Linked DNA regions of Homo sapiens: all the other regions are linked to region 6. The links are contacts of gene promoters, found by promoter capture Hi-C in blood cells and fetal thymus (Javierre and others, 2016). All regions are on one chromosome and are shown on one strand. Each heading gives the region's core, a stretch centred on a gene start or on the middle of the fragment in contact. The rest is flanking DNA. Distances are from core to core; before and after follow the strand shown.

Region 1 (2,700 bases), core at 48-2,547, 150 kb after region 6:
TCACATGGTGCTGAGGGACCTCAGCAAGTCACCACACCCACCTGGTCCCCCAGTTTCCTAGATGCCCAGTGAAAGTGGTGATGGTGGTCCCACCCTTCCTCCCCAGCTGGTGACAAGGAACGTCATACTCGACTATGAACTACTAGAGGGCAGGGATTTTGCGTCTTTTTTGTTCACTACTTTGTCCTTAGTAACCACAATGGTGCCTGACACATAATACATGATCAATAAATGTTTATCAAATGAAGGCTTACAAGTTTGATTCGACATAGGCTCAGACAAGATTTTCACAACCTGTAACTCAACCCAAAGTGATGTGGGGAAGGAACTCATTCCCCTTCATGTATATCTATAGTGAAATATCCATATTTTCCAGCCAATCATCAAGAAAGCATTTTAAACAAATTCTTGTTCAAGACTTGTTTTGATCATGCCCTTTGCTAATTCCTCACTCTGCTCACTTTTCCCTTACATGTCACACCTGTGGCCCATGTGGGGGCCACAGTGGGAAGTTACTCTGCATGGCAAGCATGAGAAGAAAGTTTCTTGCCTGGCACCCAGCAGGAGGCTGAGAGCATAGTGAGGGTGGTAGAGCAAATCAGGCCAGAAGGGGGAAATTGGAAGCTTCCTCACTCCTGCTCAGAACTTTACAGTGTAATAGCTTATGTGTCCCCAAAACATGTCACCAACAACAAAAATCTCGATTATCAAAAATCTCATGGTGGCTCATACCTGTAATCCTAGCACTTTGGGAGGCCGAGGCGGGTGAATCACTTGAGCCCAGGAGATCGAGACAGCCTGTGCAACATAGTGAGACCCTATCTCTATTTAAAGAAAAAAAAAAAAAAACAGAAGGGAAGAGAAGCGGAGGGGAGGGGAGGGGAGGGGAGGGAAGGGAGAAAAAAGAAAAGAAAGAAAAGAAAAGAAAGAAAAAAATCTCAATTATCCTTATTGTTGTAGAAATCCGAAATTAGTTGTTCAACCTGCTTCCCACTGGCCCCGGTGCCAGGGTCAAAAACCAGAAGTCCCTTGTGCCCAAAGCTTGATGGCTTCACCAGTGAATTCTACCAAACATTTAAGGAAGAATGAATGCCAATCCTTCCCAAACTTTTCCAGAATACTGAAGAGGAGATAACACTTCCTAACTCATTCTATGAGGCCAGCATTACCCTGATATCAAAGTCAGACAAAGACATTATAAGAAAAAAAAAAAGACTACAGAGAAATATCCCTTATGAACACTGATATTTAAAAATTATCAAAAAAATTAGCAAACTGCATTCAGTAGCATATTAAAAGGATTATATACCATGACCAAGTGACTTTTATTCCTGGAATGCAAGGATGATTCAACATATAAAAATCAATAAATATACCACCTTCACAAAAAAAGAAAAAAACCCACACGATCATCTTAATTGATGCAGAAAACGATTTGACAAAATTAAAAAAAAAAAATAGGAATAGAAGGACATTACCTAAACATAATAAAAGCCATATATGAAAAACCCACAATGAATATCACACTCAATAGTAAAAGACTGAAAGCTTTTCCTCTGGAATTAGGAACAAGGCAAGAATGTCCACTTTTGCCACTTTTATTCAACAGAGTACTGGAAGTTCTGCCAGAGGGATTAGGCAAAAAAAGAAATAAAAGGTATCCAAACTGGAAAGAAAGAAGTAAAATTATAAGTTTGCAGATGATATTATCTTATATGTAGAAAACGCTAAAGCTCCCACACCAAAAAAAAGGGGCTAACAAATGAATTCAGCAAAATGGCAGGATACAAAGTCAACACATAAAAATCAGTCGCATTGGCTGGGTGCGGTGGCTCATGCCTGTAATCCCAGCACTTTGGGAGGCTGAGGCAGGTGGATCATGAGGTCAAGAGTTCGAGACCAGCCTGGTCAACATGGTGAAAGCCCGTCTCTACTAAAAAATACAAATATTAGCCAGGTGTGGTGGCATGCACCTGTAATCCCAGCTACCCATGAGGCTGAGGCAGGAAAATCACTTGAACCTGGGAGGCAGAGGGTGCAGTGAGCCGAGATCGTGCCATTGTACTCCAGCCTGGGCGACAGAGCAAGACTCTGTCTCAAAAAAAAAAAAATAAAAAATCAGTTGCATTTCTATACACTAACGTTGAACAATCTGAAAAGGAAATTACAAAAATAATTCCATTGACAATAGTGTCAAAAAAAGAGTAAAATACTTGGGAATTAATCAAAGAGGACATTATGCTAAGTGACATAAGCCAGTTACCAAAAGACAAACATATGATTCCACTTGCATGAGGTAGAATAGTCAAAATCATAAAGACAGAAAGTAGAATGGGGGTTTCCAGGGTTTGGAGGGAGAGGGGAGTGGGAGTTATTTTTTAATGGGTATAGTTTCAATTTAACAAGATGAATGGATAGTGGTGATGGCTGCACATTATGAATATATTTACTACCACTGAACCATACACTTAAAAATGGTTTCAATGGTAAATTTTATGTTATGTGTATTTCACTACAAGAAAAATTTTTTGAAAAAAAGAAAAAACAGGAATCCCTGAACCAAAGACAAAGGGCAAGCATTTCCCCCACTTTATGCAAGTGCTCACTGTACAAAATGTGGGCAGCATAGACATATGAAAGGAAATTAAAATCACCTACAAAATCCCAGTACCCAGAAATAATCACCATTAAGACTTTAAT
Region 2 (2,700 bases), core at 65-2,564, 200 kb after region 6:
CTCCTAGGGCTGTGATGGGATCAGATGAGAGGCTGCATTTGGTGCACCCGGCCCAGGCTCAGTAAAGGTAAGCCAATGTTTTAAGTTACTCTTTCATGAAGGTAATTAAATATTACTCATTTATTTTCCCCACCAAGTTGGAAATGCTCTCCGGGTTTGTAGGTTGAACAAATAAATAGGAGAATATAGGAACAAGCCTCTTGACATTCTGTTTCAGGACCTTTAAACACCCTTGAGATCTAAATGGCCCAAAGAAATAGAAAGACCTGACCGGGCAGAGTGGCTCACGCCTGTAATCCCAGCACTTTGGAAGGCTGAGGTGAGTGGATCACTTGAGGTCAGGAGGATTACTTGAGGTCAGGAGGCGGGCAGACCACTTGAGGTCAGGAGTTCAAGACCAGCCCGGCCAACGTGGTGAAACCCCATCTCTACTAAAAATACAAAAATTAGCCAGGTGTGGTAGCACACGCCTGTAGTCCCAGCTACTCAGGAGGCTGAGGCAGGAGAATCGCTTGAACCCGGGAGACAGAGGTTGCACTGAGCCAAGATTGCGCCACTGCACTCCAGCCTGGGTGACAGAGTGAGACTCCGTCTCCAAAAAAAAAAAGAAATAGACCAGTGAAGGCTTGACCTTATTAAGCAATGTGTTCATGCCAAAATGTACAGTTATGTATTTGAACATACTTCATGTTCAAATGGTTGCTTTTATCTGATTGTATCATGGGAATGAACACTATATCTAATTAGGGAATGTCTCCCCTTCCTACTGCTATAAAACAGAGGTATGTAAATCGCCATTCAAGCTATATGAACTGGACATGCTACATGGGAACCAGTAAGATTGCCCAGGCCCACACAGTGCAGAGTAGAAGCTAGAGAGCTGGCAGGGACAAATTCTCCACTGGATAGCCCTCTGTGGAGCATTTCCTGGGGCTTACGACAAAAGCCTGTAAGCGCCTCCCGGCAACAGCTACTGGGACTTTGGACTAGGGAATGTCCTCTTGAGGGGCATTTACTACCTTGTTATGGGACATTAACTGAAGCTACCCCTACGACTGAAGGATATAAAATTATCTTGAAACCTGAAATACCCAGATGTCTTGGGTGATATCAGAGAAATGCTCTAATGGGGCCTACAGAGGCCAGAAATTCCATAATAAAATGGAAATGGTTGGCCAGGCGCAATGACTCACACCTGTAATACCAGCACTTTGGGAGGCCAAGGCAGGTGGATCACCTGAGATCAGGAGTTCAAGATCAGCCTGGCCAATACGGTGAAATCCCGTCTCTATTAAAAATACAAAAACTAGGCCAGGCGCGGTGGCTTACGCTTGTAATCCCAGCACTTTGGGAGGCCGAGGCGGGCAGATCATGAGGTCAGGAGATTGAGACTATCCTGGCTAACATGGTGAAACCCCGTCTCTACTAAAAATGCAAAAAAATCGCTGGGCATGGTGGTGGGCGCCTGTAGTCCCAGCTACTCGGGAGGCTGAGGCAGGAGAACGGCATGAACCCGGGAGGCAGAGCTTGCAGTGAGCCGAGATTGCACCACTGCACTCCAGCCTGGGCGACCGAGCAAGGCTCTGTCTCAAAACAACAACAACAACAACAAAAAATCGGCCAGGCGTGGTGGCGGCCACCTGTAATCCCAGTTACTCGGGAGGCTGAGGCAAAAGAATCACTTGAACCCAGGAAGTGGAGGTTGCAGTGACCTGAGATGATGCCACTGCATTCTAGCCTGGGCCACAGAGCAAGACCTTGTCTCAAAAATAAAATCCCAAAAAATAAATACAATAAAATGGAAATGGTTTACTCAGCATCTTGCTACCTGGGGAATGCAAGCAAGAGATACTCACAGGCTATGAGCCTCTTTACCCCAGGACTGATTCCGGAACTGTGTGAGGTGCTGCTGGGTTCTGTCGACACTTGGACAGTGTGCCGTGAACAGCTATCAAGTGACCAACGAGGAAATGCTGGGTTTACAGTTTCAAAGTGAATGGACGATATTCTGTTTGGAGGGCTGCCACTTGCAGCAAAGAAGGTAGAAACTGATCAGCCTCAGTGGGCTGAATTGCATTTGCATGCTGTTTTTTTTTTTCTTTTTGAGACGGAGTTTTCATTCTTGTTGCCCAGGCTGGACAGCAATGGCGCAATCTCGGCTCACTGCAACCTCTGCCTCCTGGGTTCAAGCAATTCTCCTGTCTCAGCCTCCCGAGTAGCTGGGATTACAGGTGCCTGCCACCACATCCAGCTAATTTTTGTATTTTTAGTAGAGACAGGGTTTCACCATGTTGGCCAGGACTCCTGACCTCAGGTAAGCCACCCACCTTGGCCTCCCAAAGTGCTGGGATTACAGGTGTGAGCCACCATGCCTGGGCAGGGATAATTTCTAAGCAAGAAACAGTCACCATGTTTTAAAACGTTGTCAGAATTCCCTAAGGGCCTGATGGGGGTGGATTGCGCCTTCATCCCATCTGGCAAAATGGGGGTTAAAAATAAATACAGCTATATTGTCTCATGGTAAAAATGGCTCGCGAGTTTGGAACTCGTGTAACCCTATTCTCTATGAATGAGAATGGACTGAGGGGAGGCACTCGCTACAGTAGCTTTGCTACCAATGATCCAGATAGGCACAGTGGCTGAACCCGATGTCCCTTGCAAAGGAGGAAAAGTTTGGGTAAAAATAAATGACAAATGGAG
Region 3 (2,700 bases), core at 130-2,629, 200 kb before region 6:
GCACCACCGCAGCACAGCTGGGACAGAGCAACTGGTATGTGCAGAGTGGGTTTATGTCACTAGGAAGAGGTCAGGAAAACACTCAGCCAGCCCCATCCCTTCGTCACTGCCCTTTGGTCCTCTGGGCGAGGGAGCTGGGCATCTCTCTACACCTGGCCCTGACCCTCAGCGGATCCTGACTCACCGAGGGCCCTTCCCTGAGGGCGAGCCTCCCCTGTGCTCCTGACCTGACCCCAACAGGTATCTCTAGCTCAGAACCTTCCTGGCAACCTTGGCTTTCAGCCCCTTCCCTACTTTTACCTGGGCACGCTGGAGTCCTCGGCCCGCTCCTCTCCTCTCCCGGGCAGTGGGTCTGGAAGTCCAACCTTATATCCTGCACACCCCAGCACAGGCTTTGTCTTTAGGCAGAGGCCTCAGACCAGGCCGAGGTCTCCAAGGTAAATATTTGTGGCTTCTGCTGAACCACAGCCCCGCCCGGAGGCAGCCTTGGGACTCCAGCTTCCTGAGGTTTGGAGAAAGGAAGGTCCAGGCTGAGAGAAGCACAGTGCATATAGCAGAATAAGCACTCCATAAATGTGAGTGGCCGTTGCCATTAATATTATTATTGCTTATAATAGGATGAGCCTTTGTAGAGGGATTACAACAATTGTTTAATCCAGATAATCAATTTGGGAAAAGGAAGGAGTAGCCTTACCCACCCCTTATTCCTAAATACATCAAAGATACACATCTCCATCAATTAATTCACCCAGGAGAATAGATTTGAATCCTATTTTTGCCACTGCTTTGCTGTGTGCCCTTGGGCAAGGTACTTCACCTCTCTGGGCCCCAATGACCTCATCTATAGCATGGGGATAATAGTAGCTCCTCCTCATAGGTTGTTAAGAGCATGAGTTGAAGTGCATGCCTACACAGTGCTTAGCATGGGCTTTCATTTCATTCATTCATTCATTCCGCAGCAATTAAAATCTGCTCTACCTTGTCTGCATCTTTAGGAATCTCCATGAGCACTTGTGGACCAAAAGAATAAGGAGGGATGACCATGAACCTAAAGGACAAATGTCAGAGCCCAGCAGGACGCTGTCATCCACCACCTGGGCCCAGGTCTTGGCTCACGCAGCCTGCACAGTCACCCAGAGGTGGGCATCAGCAGCGTTAATGTTACAGAGGGCACCTGAGGCTCAGAGAGGCGAGTGACTTGCTCAAGGTCACATGACCAGGGATTCCAGCTTTGGGACCTGAACCCGATCATCAGTCCAGACCGGACCCTCTTAACCGCCACACTGTCCTTCCCCTGAGACTTCAATTTAGCACTGGAGGTGGTGGTGACACCAACATGGCCTTTTGATGTCATCTGGGGAATTATCCTTGCTACCCAGTTTTTGTCTAGAAGAATGGAATTGTGGTTTAGAGCTGGGATGGCCATTGTTGAATCCTGTCTCCATCTGCAGCAGACAAGTCAGGGGCAGTAAGTGTTCTGAGGTCACAAAGTACGTGGCCAGGCCCTGGCTGGTCTCTTCCTCCTGCTTTTTGACAAGAAGAACAAGGTGAAGAGCGTTTGCTGTCCTGCCATGTTTGCAAACACACCAAAAGCCCTGAATACCTAAAGGTGAGGTGTTTTGAGAGAGCTCTTGGGAGGACCCTGCCGATCCCTTGGGCACATCTCCAGAGAGGCAAATGCCCCTGCTTGGCTTCCCAGCTGGCCATGCCCACTGCCCATGGACAATGACCCTCTGTGCGGTGCTCGGGCCCAATGCCAAGACCTGGGGCCGCATCAGCTCCTGCTTCCTGCCACGTGCTGGGACAGCAAAGCTGGCTGCATCTCTGCAGGCCCATGGTCCCCAGACTCCACACCTGCCCTCAGTACCGCGTGGCCCCTCCTCAGGTTGCTGGCGTCTCTTGGCCTTGGCTCCACCTCTCTTCAGCTCCCAGGCCTTTTTGTGCCGTGTCCTCTTTCTGGAGTACCTCCTTCACCCTCCTGAAAACCTAATTGTGCCCTGTCTGGGAAGAAGCGCAGGAGTGCAGGAGGAAGCCTGTGGAGGCCGACAGACACGGCTCAGATTCCTGCTCCTATACTGACAGCTGTCAGCCTTGGGAAAATTGCTTCTTCTCTATGAGACTGTTTCCTCCATTGTGAAATGGGACTATTTTGAGGGTCTCGTAAGGTCATGAGAAATGCTTGAAACATCAGAGAATTCAGCAAGTGGTAAATTCACACCTGTAATACCAGCATTTTGGGAGGCAAATACTGGTGGATTACCTGAGGTCAGGAGTTTGAGATCAGCCTGGTCAACATGGTGAAACCCTGTCTCTAAAAAAAAAAAAAAAAAAAAATTAGACGGGCATGGTTTTTAGGTGGCACGTGCCTGTAGACCCAGTTACTCAGAAGGCTGAGGCAGGGGAACCACTTGAACCCAGGAGGCAGAGGTTGCAGTGAGCCAAGATCGCACCACTGCACTCCCGCCCGGGCTACAGAGCAAGACTCTGTCTCACACACACAAAAAAGAACGCAACATCTGCATAAAGCTGCCTGACTGCTGCTCCACCTGGCCTGGATGTCCTCTTCCCAGCATGTTTGGCTGCTGGCCACCTTTCAGCCCTCACCTCTCTCTACTTCATCCCTCGCTCCTCTCACTCCCACCCCAGGGCCTGCGCACATGCTGGCCTTATCCCAGGAGCGCTCTCCTTCCAGCTCTCATT
Region 4 (2,700 bases), core at 16-2,515, 220 kb before region 6:
ATCTCCATTAAACTGAGCCTGATGGAGGATTCCTGCTTAGGGGCACCCTGTGTTCAGGAAATTCCTATGATGTGGCCTGGGCGGCCCTATTCTCTGCCTTGTGCTGAGGTTTACCACAGAGTCCAACAGGACCATGAATTCTTCTGGAGAGAGCACAGCAGCCACTGCAGCTTTCACCACGTCCTGACTCACGATGAGGCTGAACGGGATGTTGTCCAGGGTGGGCATTGTCAGGGAAGCTGCAGAGTTATTGAACCACTTGGTCACCTTTCCCTGTGAGTCCAACAACTTGGCCTGAGGAGACAGAGCAGGGAGTCAGCTAAGAATTTTAACTCTGCAGCTTACCCAATAGCAACCTAGAAGGAAATGACACCATTCAGCCTGTTTCCTTTTTGTGCATTTGTTGCCAGGAAGCTTAGCCTGGAGCTCAGGTGTGTGGCAACATCTACTCCATCTTTGCCCCTCGGATAATCTCTGACTTTTATTTTTTGTACCAGATATCTTCGTTTTTTTTCCCATGCTTCAACTTCTCAGACACCTCAAACCCTTTGGATGGAGGGAAAATTAAAAACTACAACAAAATGGAAGAAACGATTTGATGCTGCAGTTTTCCAAAGGATCCATAGAAACTAGTCCAGGGGCCAGGCGTGTTGGCTCATGCTTGTAATCTTAGCACTTTGGGAGGCCGAAGTGGGAGGATCATTTGAGCCCAGGAGTTTGAGACCAGCCTGGGCAACATGGCGGAACCCCATCTTTACAAAAAATACAGAAAATTAGCCAGGCGTGGTGGCGAGTGCCTGCAGTCCCAGCTACTCAGGAGGTTGAGGTGAGAGGATCGCTTGAGCCCAGGAGGTCAAGGCTGCAGTGAGCTGTGATGGCACCACTGCACTCCAGCCTGGGTGACAGAGTGAGACTCAGTCTCAAAAAAACAAAACAAAAGAAACCTAGTCTGGGATTCATGCTACCAGGATGGTCTGGCCCTTTGGGGCGTCCAGCCACAGCATGGCTGTGCAGCTCCACATTGGACAGGGAGCTGACAGTTACTGGGCACTTCTGGTCTGCCAGGCATGGTGTGGTCTCATTTCATCCTCTCCTCAGTGGCCATTATTACTGACATTTTGCAGACAAGGAAACTGAGGCTCAGGGAGGTAAAGGAACTTGCCCAAAGTCACATAGCCAGGGAATCATAGAGCTAGGAGAGAAACTTAGGTCTGTGTTTCTTGATCCTTGGCTTTTGTTTCAAGGTTGTCATAGGTTTGGGGATTGGCAGGGACTTGCCTGAGAGAAAGGCTGAGGGCCCAGTGTCCCCACTCGGGCCCCCCCATGTCACTCTGGGTGACAGTGAGACTCAGTCTCAAAAAAACAAAACAAAACAAACTTGCATGGGACATATTCAGCCTGCAGTGATTTTTCTAGATCAGCCCGTGTCCTAATGGTGACCAGGATTTTCTCTCCTAACACAGGCCCATGCTATCTGACTCCTGGTGGTCAGAGAAGGGCAGCAATGTCCCCACTTCACCCTCAAGGTCCTGGGACACTCACCCCCAGGTAGAGCTGAATGGTGTCACCCTTGATGGCAGGATACAGAAGGTCAAACTCCAGACGGTCAATGCTGAGGGAAATGGGCACTGCTCAAGGACAAGAAGAAAGTTCTGTGAGGGTGGAGGGCAGTATTGGAGGGGGAAGTTGGGGGGCTGCTTCCAGGTGGAGCTGTACTGTTGCATGGGGGGGCAGGTAGGGAGGAGCAGGTAATAATGATGTTGATAATAATGATGCAAACAGTGATGACAGTGACATTTATCGAGCATCCACTAAGTGCCAGGCCTCTGCATGTCAGCTGGTTCATCTGCATGATAACGTTAGGAAGTAGGTCTTATTATTACCCCCTTTTACAGATGGTGAAACCAAGTCTGAGGAAAGGGAAATGACCTGTTCAAAGCCATACTATGAGAGCATGGGAACCCAGTCGGTTTTATGCCAAAGTCCCGGTTTGGAACGGAACTGAACTATTGTATGTAACACTCCACCGCCCCTACCAGACTGAAAGCCGCGTCCCCCATGCAGGTGGTTCTGGGTCTGGACACCCTATGAGCACCTGGATCTCAAGGAAGCTTAGGCTGGAAGCCAGAGGCCTGGTAACATCTACTCTGAAATCCAAACTGGCTCCTCTGCTCCCCCCAAAGATCTCGTGTTCGCGTCAGAATTCCCCACTTGGCCGCCAGGTGGCGGTGGTGTGTCACCTGCCCCGGTGTATGGCCGAGGATGGGGAGTGCTGGAGGGCCAGGGACCGGCCGCCTACCGCTCCAGGGAGACCTCCGGGCCCGTCCTCGGGGCAGCGGAGGAGCCAGCTGGACTTCGGTTTGAGCCCCAGTGACCTTGGCTGGTCTCTTCTCGCGTCTGAATCTGTTTCCTCGTCTTAAAATGAGGGTATAGTGCCCGCCAGGGCAGCACATGTACTAAAATCGGAAGGACATAGAGACGATGAGCATGACTCCTGTAAAAATTACTTTAAAAAAAGAAAAAAGGTCCGTCTCCAAAAAAAAAAAAAAAGTATATTAAAGTCAATAAGGTCCCCGAAAATGGCTATAACAACAACAAAAAAATGTGATTTACAAAGAGAAATCTACAGACTTGTCAACAAAATGTAATGTGTGAACTCTGGATCCTACTCTGAATACTGACCAAATATCTGACGATTGG
Region 5 (2,700 bases), core at 36-2,535, 230 kb after region 6:
GCAAAACCCCGTCTCTACTAAAAACACAAAAATTAGCTGGGTGTGGTGGTGGGCGCCTGTAATCCCAGCTACTCTCGAGGTTGAGGCAGGAGACTCGCTTGAACCCAGGAGGCGGAGGTTGCAGTGAGCCAAGATGGCACCACTGTACTCCAACCTGGGCAACAAGAATGAAACTCTGTCTCAAAAAAAAAAAAAAAAAAAAAATTAGCCAGCCAGGCATGGTGGTGTGCACTACAGTCCCAGCTACTATGGAGGTTGAGGTGGGAGGACAGCTGAAGCCCAGGAAGTTGAGGCTGTCATGAGCCATGACTGTGCCACTGCACTCCAGCCTGGGTGACAGGAGACCCTGTCTCAAAAAAACAAAAACAAAAACAATACATAATTTGGCTGAAGTCATCTAGGTTAATGGTTCTAACTGCAGTCAAGTTCAATGTAAAAGTACACAATCCCTTCAGGCTTTCAGAGAAAACCCTGAACACTCAGTTATACCCTCGCATGTGAAAATGAAGAGAAAAAAAGCAGCAAGCGTCATGAAGATACAGAAATAAATATGAACTCATCTGGTTTTGACATTTTACAAACTAAATGTGTGAATCCAAAAGTATGATATCAAGCAGGGAGTGGTGGCTCACACCTGTAATCCCAGCACTTTGGGAGGCCAAGACAGGTGGATCACTTGAGGCCAGGAGTTCGAGACTACCTTGGGCAACATGGCAAAACTCCATCTCTACTGAAAATACAAAAATTAGCCAGGCATAGTGGCACAGGCCTGTAATCCCAGCTACTCAGGAGGCTGAGGTACGGGAACTGCTTCAGCCTGGGAGGTGGAGGTTGCAGTGAGCCAAGATCGTGCCACTGCACTCCAGCCTGGGTGACAGAGCAAGACTGTCTGGGGAAAAAAAAAAAAAAAAAAAAAAGACATATTACAACAGTGCCAGACCAGAAAAATGACGGGTGGTTCACAACACTGATCACAGACTGAGGTTCAGCTTGTTTCAAAGCAATGTTCTCTGTTGTCAACAATCAGATTTGGGTCACCCACATGCTAGCAAGCTAATCTGACTAGGCTGATCAGGCCTAAAGCTTGGATTTTTATTTGTGGACTTTGCAATGAACTATGGTCAACATCACAAAAGGAGTCCTTTATACTCAATCTTCTAAAACAATCCTTAAAAGAAAAACTACAGAGGATCACCTTGGCTAGGGCAAAAGAAAAATGCTTCCTTTTCAAAACCCTTCACATTCTAGAGAGTAAATCTTGAAGAAAATATGGGTTTTTAATCAATGAATCTGAGACATTGAATCTTCATTTAAAAGAAAACAAAAACAGGATAAACATAAGAGCCTGAAGACATAAGGGAGTTCTACTTGTCCATATACCATGCTGAAAAGGAAATACTTTGGGTGTATTTTACAAAACACCCAAAGCCTGTCTGAAGGAATGCCCTTCCGAATTCTGAGGATACAAAAGCCCTGTCCTAAGCTTTTTCTAATCTATAAACAGAATTTCAGACCAGATCTGAAGAACTTGTGCCATAAATAATGCCTCTTGTCTGTACAGAGCTTTTTAGCTTTGTGGTGCTGTTTTTTTTTGGTCCATCAGCTCCTTCTAATCCCAACAAGTACCCAGTGAGGGAGGCACGTCAGCCAAAATCATCATCTCTGTCTTGCATGTAAGAACAAGAGAGGTCAAATAGCTCAAAACTCACAAAGCAGGAGAGACCTGCAAGAGGACTCAAGTCTGATGTTCCCCTTGCCAGAATTATTATTTAAAATTGCAGACATGTAGATAAGGCCCAAATTAAAATGCAGGTTTTCAACCTCCAAACTCAGAATCTCTGGTGATGAATTTTTATAAATACATTATGTCAAACAAGTTCCCCATGTGATTCTGAAGCCCATCAGTTTGAGAATCATCAGCATGAACAATGATCCAAATTGAGCCAGAGAACCCATTTGTTTACCTATCCTTCATGAAACACAGAACCTGCCAAGCAAACCAAGCAGCAAAGACTGTATGTGCTTCAAATTCAAGAGCCAGGTCAATGCACTTGGTCAGATACCCACAGTTTTGGCTTCTCTCTTTACCAAGGTAACTTCTCAATTGACAGTAGCCAACAGTATCTTCACAAACTCCTTGCACTCCTGGAAGGTATCTTCTTGTAGATGACCAATACATATGGTGTCAAATTCCTTCTGAAGGTATTTAACACTTTAAGGGAGGTATCATACCATTAACTATGGGTGCAACCCTTGTCAAGATCATCAGGTTGGGTTTATAGAGCATCCATAACCATGACTCTACATATCCTACAACACACTATCTCTGCCCATTTAACTTTATTTCTGACAGAAAATGGCAGCAAGTCTCCTTTTGAACTCATTTCTAATAGCATATAATTTTATAAGGGAGAAAAAAATGGTGACAATTTTAGATTATTTTATAGATTAAGATCATGTTAACTGACTTTGAAACATACTTTCAGGGCTGGGTGCAGTGGCTCACACCTGTAATCCCAGCACTTTAGGAGGTCAAGGTGGGAGGATCACTTGAGCCCAGGAGTTCAAGACAAGCCTGGGCAACATAAGGGGACCCCATCTCTACAAAAAATACAAAGTTTAGCTGGGCATGGTGGTGCATGCCTGTAGTCCCCACTACTCACGAGGCTGAGGTGGGAGGATCGCTTGAACCCAAGAGGG
Region 6 (2,700 bases), core at 38-2,537:
CATTCTCCTCCCTCTATTTATTAATCTGTCCACCCATCCCACCATCCATCCATCTTCCCATATATCTATCATCCATCTGTCATCCAAACAGCTGGCAAGCCATATATCCTCCTGCCCATCCATCTATCCAACCAACCATCCATCCACCCAGCTATCCATCCATCCATCCATTCATCTTTCCATCAGTTTATCTACTCATCAATGCATTCATCTAGCCACCCTTCCACACATCCAGCTCACCAGCAAACACTCTTCCCATCTCTTTGGAGGAGTCAGTTCTACACCACGTGGTTAATATTAATGGCTCTAGGTCAGAGATATCTGGGTCTTAATGCTTAGGAAAGGGACTTTACCTTTTTGAACTTCTGCTCCCAAATCACAAACAAGTTGTATCTCATACATAGTAGACACTCAATAAAGAGCAGCTATTGTTATTACTTTGGGACTGTTATTTCAGACCCCTAAGAAGTGGGTGAGGAATGTTATGAGATTGGGGAGGTGAAACATGCATTTTGGAACGAGCTGCATAGCCTCTGGGAAACTTTCTTTTGCTCCTTTTGTGCCCTCATCCACTTCTCTCACTCCATCAGCCCCGGCTACACATCCACCAACCTCAGAGAGTCAGCACAGGGCATGGCCTCTCATCTGAGCCAAGAAATTGTTGGTTTCAGCCACCTTTGTTTAGGCACACTCTCCTCTTTTTTCTGTCCCCATTTCTCTTGGACTTCACAGCGCCCCCAAATTCTTTCCCTACTCCTATCTGCTCCCAGAAGAATATTAGAGGCATTCATTTACACTAGAATATAAAGGACTACTATATGCAATAATTTTTTTCTGGCTTCCTCACCTCATCCTAACCTCACTTTCCAGAGAGCTGTGTTCAAAAAGGAATCACCCCTTTCAGTTAAAAAGATGGGCACCGATGGAAGATTTCTGGCATCAGCAAACAGCTGAGGAGTCTCCAGGAGGTAGCAAAGGCCCTCGGTACCCAACGTCCCTGGGAAAGATGAGTGCAGCTCTGCGCATGCATGTAATTGGCATAACCCAGGCCTTTTTGCTGATTCCCAAGAGGCTCTCCTGACTAGGCCCATGCTACAGACAAGACCCCTGAACTTGGAGAGGGGCCATCCTGATGGATCTCCAGGCTGGGACTCTCTCTCCTTATTACCTTCCCAGGCCTGTGCCTCCCCTGCCGGACACTGAGTAGACAAGGTGCGCCTCCTTACCCCTAGGAGGTCCCTGCCGCTGAGTCTTGAGAAGTCCTGTTCCCCAGCCCCTCTGCTTTTGGCTGAGTCTGGTCACAGATCAGTCTTATATAGCAGCCTGAGGCTGAGCCCAGACCCCAGAGAGGGAAACACTGTGTAATTACAAGAGACCGGAATTCAGATTTGCTCTGCAAATTGGGCATTGAGCCCCAAAACCATAAAGGTTTGCGGTTTGTGGCTAATTCCAAGACTTGCACTCAGCCCCAGATGGTGTCACATGAGCTGGGTTTTATCAGCCCTTGGGCTGGGCACATTCCCAGAGACCCCAGCTAGGCCTCAAGCTTGGGGAACTGGAATCACCCCCAGATGCATCTAGTTTCTAACTCTAAGGCAGGCACTAGCCATTCCAGATGATCTGGGTAGACAGGAGGTGCCCAGGCTGGACTCAGCATCAGGATGACCCAGGTTCAAACCCTGCTCAACCCCCAACTCACCGTATGACCTTGGGCCAGCCACTTCCCTCCTCTGAGCCTCACATTCTTTCCATCTGGCAAATGAGTATAATACCTGCCTCACAGGGCTGATTTTAGGACTAAAGGAGACGAATATGAATCCAGCTCCTCAAACTTGGGACTGGTGCACGAATGTGCATTTTTTTTATCTGAAAAATATTCCTCACTCATTTCTTAGGGGTCTGAAATAATAGTCCCAAAGTAATAACAATAGCTGCTGTTTATTGAGTGTTTACTATGTATGAGATACAACAAGGTTTTTCCCAACTATTTCCTCATGAAATTTTCATACCTATAGCAAAGGTGAAGGAAATGTACAGCGGACACACATGGTTGTCACGTTGTTCCCACCAACTATACCCACCATTTACATTCTTGTCATATTTGCATCCATCTGTTAGTCCATCTTTTATTTTTTATGCATTTGAAAGTTGCAGACATCAGTATACTACCACTAAACACTTCACCCTGCATGGCATTCAGATTCTTTTCTTTATATCTTTAAATACAGTGACATGCACAAATCTTAAATGTTCATTTGCTGAGTTTTGACCATTTTTTACGGTCATGCAGCCCACACTCCTATCACAATATAGAACATTTCCACCACCCCAGAATGTTCCGTCTGCCTTTTCCCAGTTGCACCCTCCAAAACCTGCTGGGACACAGCCCAGACCACTTCACTTGGCATCCAAGGCCTTCCGTACACACATCCCAGTCCTCTCTTCACACAGAGCTACTCATTCCTTCCATCCCCTCCTCATCACCCCCTGTGCTCCCTGCCTCTGGGCCTTTGCATGTGCAGTCCCTGCTGTCTACAAAGCCCTCTCCAGATTCTAAGGGTGAAAGGTAAGCAGCTGCAGGAAGCTTCCCCCAGCCCCTACAGTTCCTCTGGCCCATCCAGAGATCCCTGGGGCCCATAGTGAAGTGTTGTTTCTCCAGGCGAACCAGCTATGTGCCCCACTCCTAGGCCAGCACAGGCA
Region 7 (2,700 bases), core at 71-2,570, 130 kb after region 6:
GTTATTTAGAAATGTGTCATTTAGCTTCCAAATATTTAGGGATATTTCAAAGATATTTCTGTTTTTGATTTATAATTCAGTTTCATTGGGATCAGAGAACATACTTTGTATGGCATAAATCCTTTTGAGATTAGTGAGATGTGTTTTGTTACCAGAATATGGTCGGTTTAATTAATGTTCTGTGTGCACTTAAAAATAATGTTTGTTTATGAATGATCTATAAATGTTAATTAAGTAAAATTGTTTGATAGTGTTATTCAAGTATTCTATATCATTAATGATTTTCTGTATAGTTGTTTTATAAATTGAGAGAATATTGAAATCTCATGCTACAATCATAGATTATTAAAATTTAAAATAATAACAGATCAAACACCAAATGTTGATGAAGACACAAAGGTAGAAATGCAAAACAGTTTGGTCATTTTTCATAAAGTTTCAATACACTTACCATACAACCCAGCCATTCTGCTTCTAAATACTTACCCAACAGAAATGAAAACAATGTTTAAAGCGGCTTCATTCATAATCATCCAAAACTGACAATGACTCAAATGTCCTATAATTGGTGAATGGATTAACAAACTATGACAGAGCCATACAGTGGAATAATACTCAGCAATAAAAAGAACAAACTACTGATACGTTCAACAACAAAGATGAATCTCAAATTGATTATGCTAAGTGAAAGTTAGACTTTCACTCAGCTACATGTGTATGTTTCCATTTATGATAATCTGGAAAAGGCAAAACTATAGAGACAAACAGATCAATGGCTGCCAGGGGTTAGGAGAAGGAAATAGAGTTTACTATGAGGAGACATGAGGTCACTTTTTGGGGTAATGTCTATGTCTTGATTGTGATACCAATTACACAATTGTATGCATTCATGAAACCTCACAGAACTATATACTTTTAAAAGGTGCTTTTATTGGATGTAAATTATACTTCAGAAATCTGATTTTTAAAACAAGCTTCTAAAAGATAACACTAGATATTATATTTAGGGGATAGTCAAAGACGTCTTTGAAAGATACAAAAAAATGGGTGACATCAGCAAGATGGTAGAATAGGAAGATCCAGAACTTCCTTCTCCCTATGGAGACACTGACTGAACAACAGTACATGGACCAGAAACCAGGACCATTCATCCCAGATGAATGAAAAAACAAACAAACAAAAACCAAAAAAACAAAAAACAAAAAACCAGCTGCACTGAAGCCAGTAGGAAAATTCATAGTGCTCACTTGTAATCCCTCCTCCTGGCTCAGTGAAGCAGATTGGGAAGGAACCACCAGCTTCCAGCTTCTCCCTGGGAGGGAAAGACTGAGATGTACATCCAACATGCAGACTTTTCAGAGGGCTGCATGATTAACCAGTTTCTGTCTTGCCTGAATCTAAGCACTGACAGGAAGAGGCACCAGACTGGGCTACTAAGAACAAAGGTGACAATTTAGACTAGCACACACTATCAGAGTCCCTCCTGCCGCTCTGTGGAATGAGTAGAGAAAACAACCCAACTTCCAGCTTCTCCTTGAGGAGGCAGATTTGGAGCATACATATCCAATGTTAGCCTTTGAGGGGTACCCAAGAAACTGGTTTCTGTCTTGCCTCTCTCAGACTATTGAAGGACCCAGCATATTCTAGAGGCCTGGGGGAAGCTTGTAGCCGCTCTAGAGAACTTGCAGTACTGCAAATAGACACCAGAGAGAGCAAGAGATAATGGACTCCTGAAAAAAATAAACCTGTAGATTCCTGTAATTGCGAATTTACATGCGTAAGTCTGGTGAAAGTATCCACAAAAAAGATTGGGGAGGCACCCAGAATCTTTAGCCAAGCTGATTGGTGCAGAATTTTCCCTGAATGAAGCCAGTATATAAAGACTGGGAGAGGTGGCTGATTTTACAAATGCATGGATCCCAATATAAAGTTATAAGGCACACAAAAAAAATAGGAAAGCATGGCCCAAAGGAACAAAATAAATCTCCAGAAACTGCCGCTAAAGAAATTGAGGTATATTAATTATTTGACAAAGAATTCTAAGTAACCGTAATAAAAATGCTCAACAAGCTCAGGGAAACAATACATGAACAAACTGAGAATATTAGTGAAGACACAGAAAATATAGAAAAGAACCAAACAGAGGCCAGCCATGGTGGCCCACACCTATAATCCCAACACTTTGGGAAGCTTAGGTGGGCGATCACTTGAGCTCAAGAATTCAAGGCCAGCCTGGGCAACATGGTGAAACTCTGTCTCTACAAAAAATACAAAAAATTAGCCAGGCATGATGGCATGCACCTGTAGTCCCAGCTACTCAGGAGGCTGTGGGAAGATCACTTGAGGCTGGGAGGTCAAGGCTTCAGTGAGCTGAATTCGTGCCACTGCACTCAACCCTGGGTGGCAGAGCAAGACCCTGTCTCAAAAAATAATAATAATAATAATAAAAATAACAGAAATTCTAGAGCTGAAGATGAAGAGTAAAATAATTGAATTCAAAAGTCATCTACAGCAGGCTTGATCAAGCAGAAGGAAAAATCAGCAGACTTGAAGATATCCAGTCAGAGAAGCAAAAAAGAAAAAAGAATTTTAAAGAGTAAAGAAAACTTAAGGGATTTATGAGACATCGTCAAATGGACAATATATGCATTATGGTAGTACTAGAAGGAGGAGAGAGAGACAGAGAGAGAGAAAGGGACA

Evidence for each region. Contacts are between HindIII fragments. The CHiCAGO score rates a contact against its expected background, and 5 or more counts as called.
Region 1: a fragment that was not itself captured here is called in contact with the fragment with the promoter of BPIFB4 in region 6 in 4 of 17 cell types (non-activated CD4 T cells, activated CD4 T cells, megakaryocytes and 1 more); the score reaches 5.7 in non-activated CD4 T cells.
Region 2: a contact is called between a fragment that was not itself captured here and the fragment with the promoter of BPIFB4 in region 6, in 2 of 17 cell types (megakaryocytes and activated CD4 T cells). The highest score is 5.7, in megakaryocytes.
Region 3: a contact is called between a fragment that was not itself captured here and the fragment with the promoter of BPIFB4 in region 6, in 1 of 17 cell types (M0 macrophages). The highest score is 5.0, in M0 macrophages.
Region 4: a contact is called between a fragment that was not itself captured here and the fragment with the promoter of BPIFB4 in region 6, in 6 of 17 cell types (M0 macrophages, endothelial precursors, M1 macrophages and 3 more). The highest score is 7.0, in M0 macrophages.
Region 5: a fragment that was not itself captured here is called in contact with the fragment with the promoter of BPIFB4 in region 6 in 1 of 17 cell types (megakaryocytes); the score reaches 5.6 in megakaryocytes.
Region 7: a fragment that was not itself captured here is called in contact with the fragment with the promoter of BPIFB4 in region 6 in 2 of 17 cell types (megakaryocytes and endothelial precursors); the score reaches 8.7 in megakaryocytes.

Annotation. Positions count from the first base shown.
Region 1 is chr20:32,927,652-32,930,351 of GRCh38, reverse strand. All of the region lies in intron 20 of EFCAB8 (EF-hand calcium binding domain 8), which reads right to left. Among named protein-coding and RNA genes, the nearest start is that of EFCAB8, 70 kb to the right of the region's middle. The HindIII fragment of the contact is 507 bases long and covers 1,044-1,550 here.
Region 2 is chr20:32,881,604-32,884,303 of GRCh38, reverse strand. All of the region lies in intron 5 of EFCAB8 (EF-hand calcium binding domain 8), which reads right to left. Among named protein-coding and RNA genes, the nearest start is that of EFCAB8, 24 kb to the right of the region's middle. The HindIII fragment of the contact is 4,347 bases long and covers 1-2,700 here.
Region 3 is chr20:33,280,855-33,283,554 of GRCh38, reverse strand. BPIFB1 (BPI fold containing family B member 1) reads right to left here and starts at 341. Exons shown (of 16, transcript NM_033197.3): 1 at 301-341. RefSeq lists enhancers at 1,268-1,768, 1,769-2,269. The HindIII fragment of the contact is 5,854 bases long and covers 1-2,700 here.
Region 4 is chr20:33,298,827-33,301,526 of GRCh38, reverse strand. It overlaps BPIFB1 (BPI fold containing family B member 1), which reads right to left. Exons shown (of 16, transcript NM_033197.3): 8 at 1,543-1,628; 9 at 115-294. LOC105372594 (a long non-coding RNA gene) reads right to left here. Exons shown (of 2, transcript XR_936685.3): 1 at 2,683-2,700; 2 at 1,674-2,456. Among named protein-coding and RNA genes, the nearest start is that of BPIFB1, 17 kb to the right of the region's middle. The HindIII fragment of the contact is 1,697 bases long and covers 417-2,113 here.
Region 5 is chr20:32,851,173-32,853,872 of GRCh38, reverse strand. No RefSeq gene overlaps it. Among named protein-coding and RNA genes, the nearest start is that of EFCAB8, 6.4 kb to the left of the region's middle. The HindIII fragment of the contact is 400 bases long and covers 1,086-1,485 here.
Region 6 is chr20:33,078,230-33,080,929 of GRCh38, reverse strand. BPIFB4 (BPI fold containing family B member 4) reads right to left here and starts at 1,287. Exons shown (of 18, transcript NM_182519.3): 1 at 1,227-1,287; 2 at 354-461. The HindIII fragment of the contact is 19,838 bases long and covers 1-1,548 here.
Region 7 is chr20:32,944,900-32,947,599 of GRCh38, reverse strand. The region is part of intron 23 of EFCAB8 (EF-hand calcium binding domain 8); the gene reads right to left. Among named protein-coding and RNA genes, the nearest start is that of SUN5, 58 kb to the left of the region's middle. The HindIII fragment of the contact is 687 bases long and covers 977-1,663 here.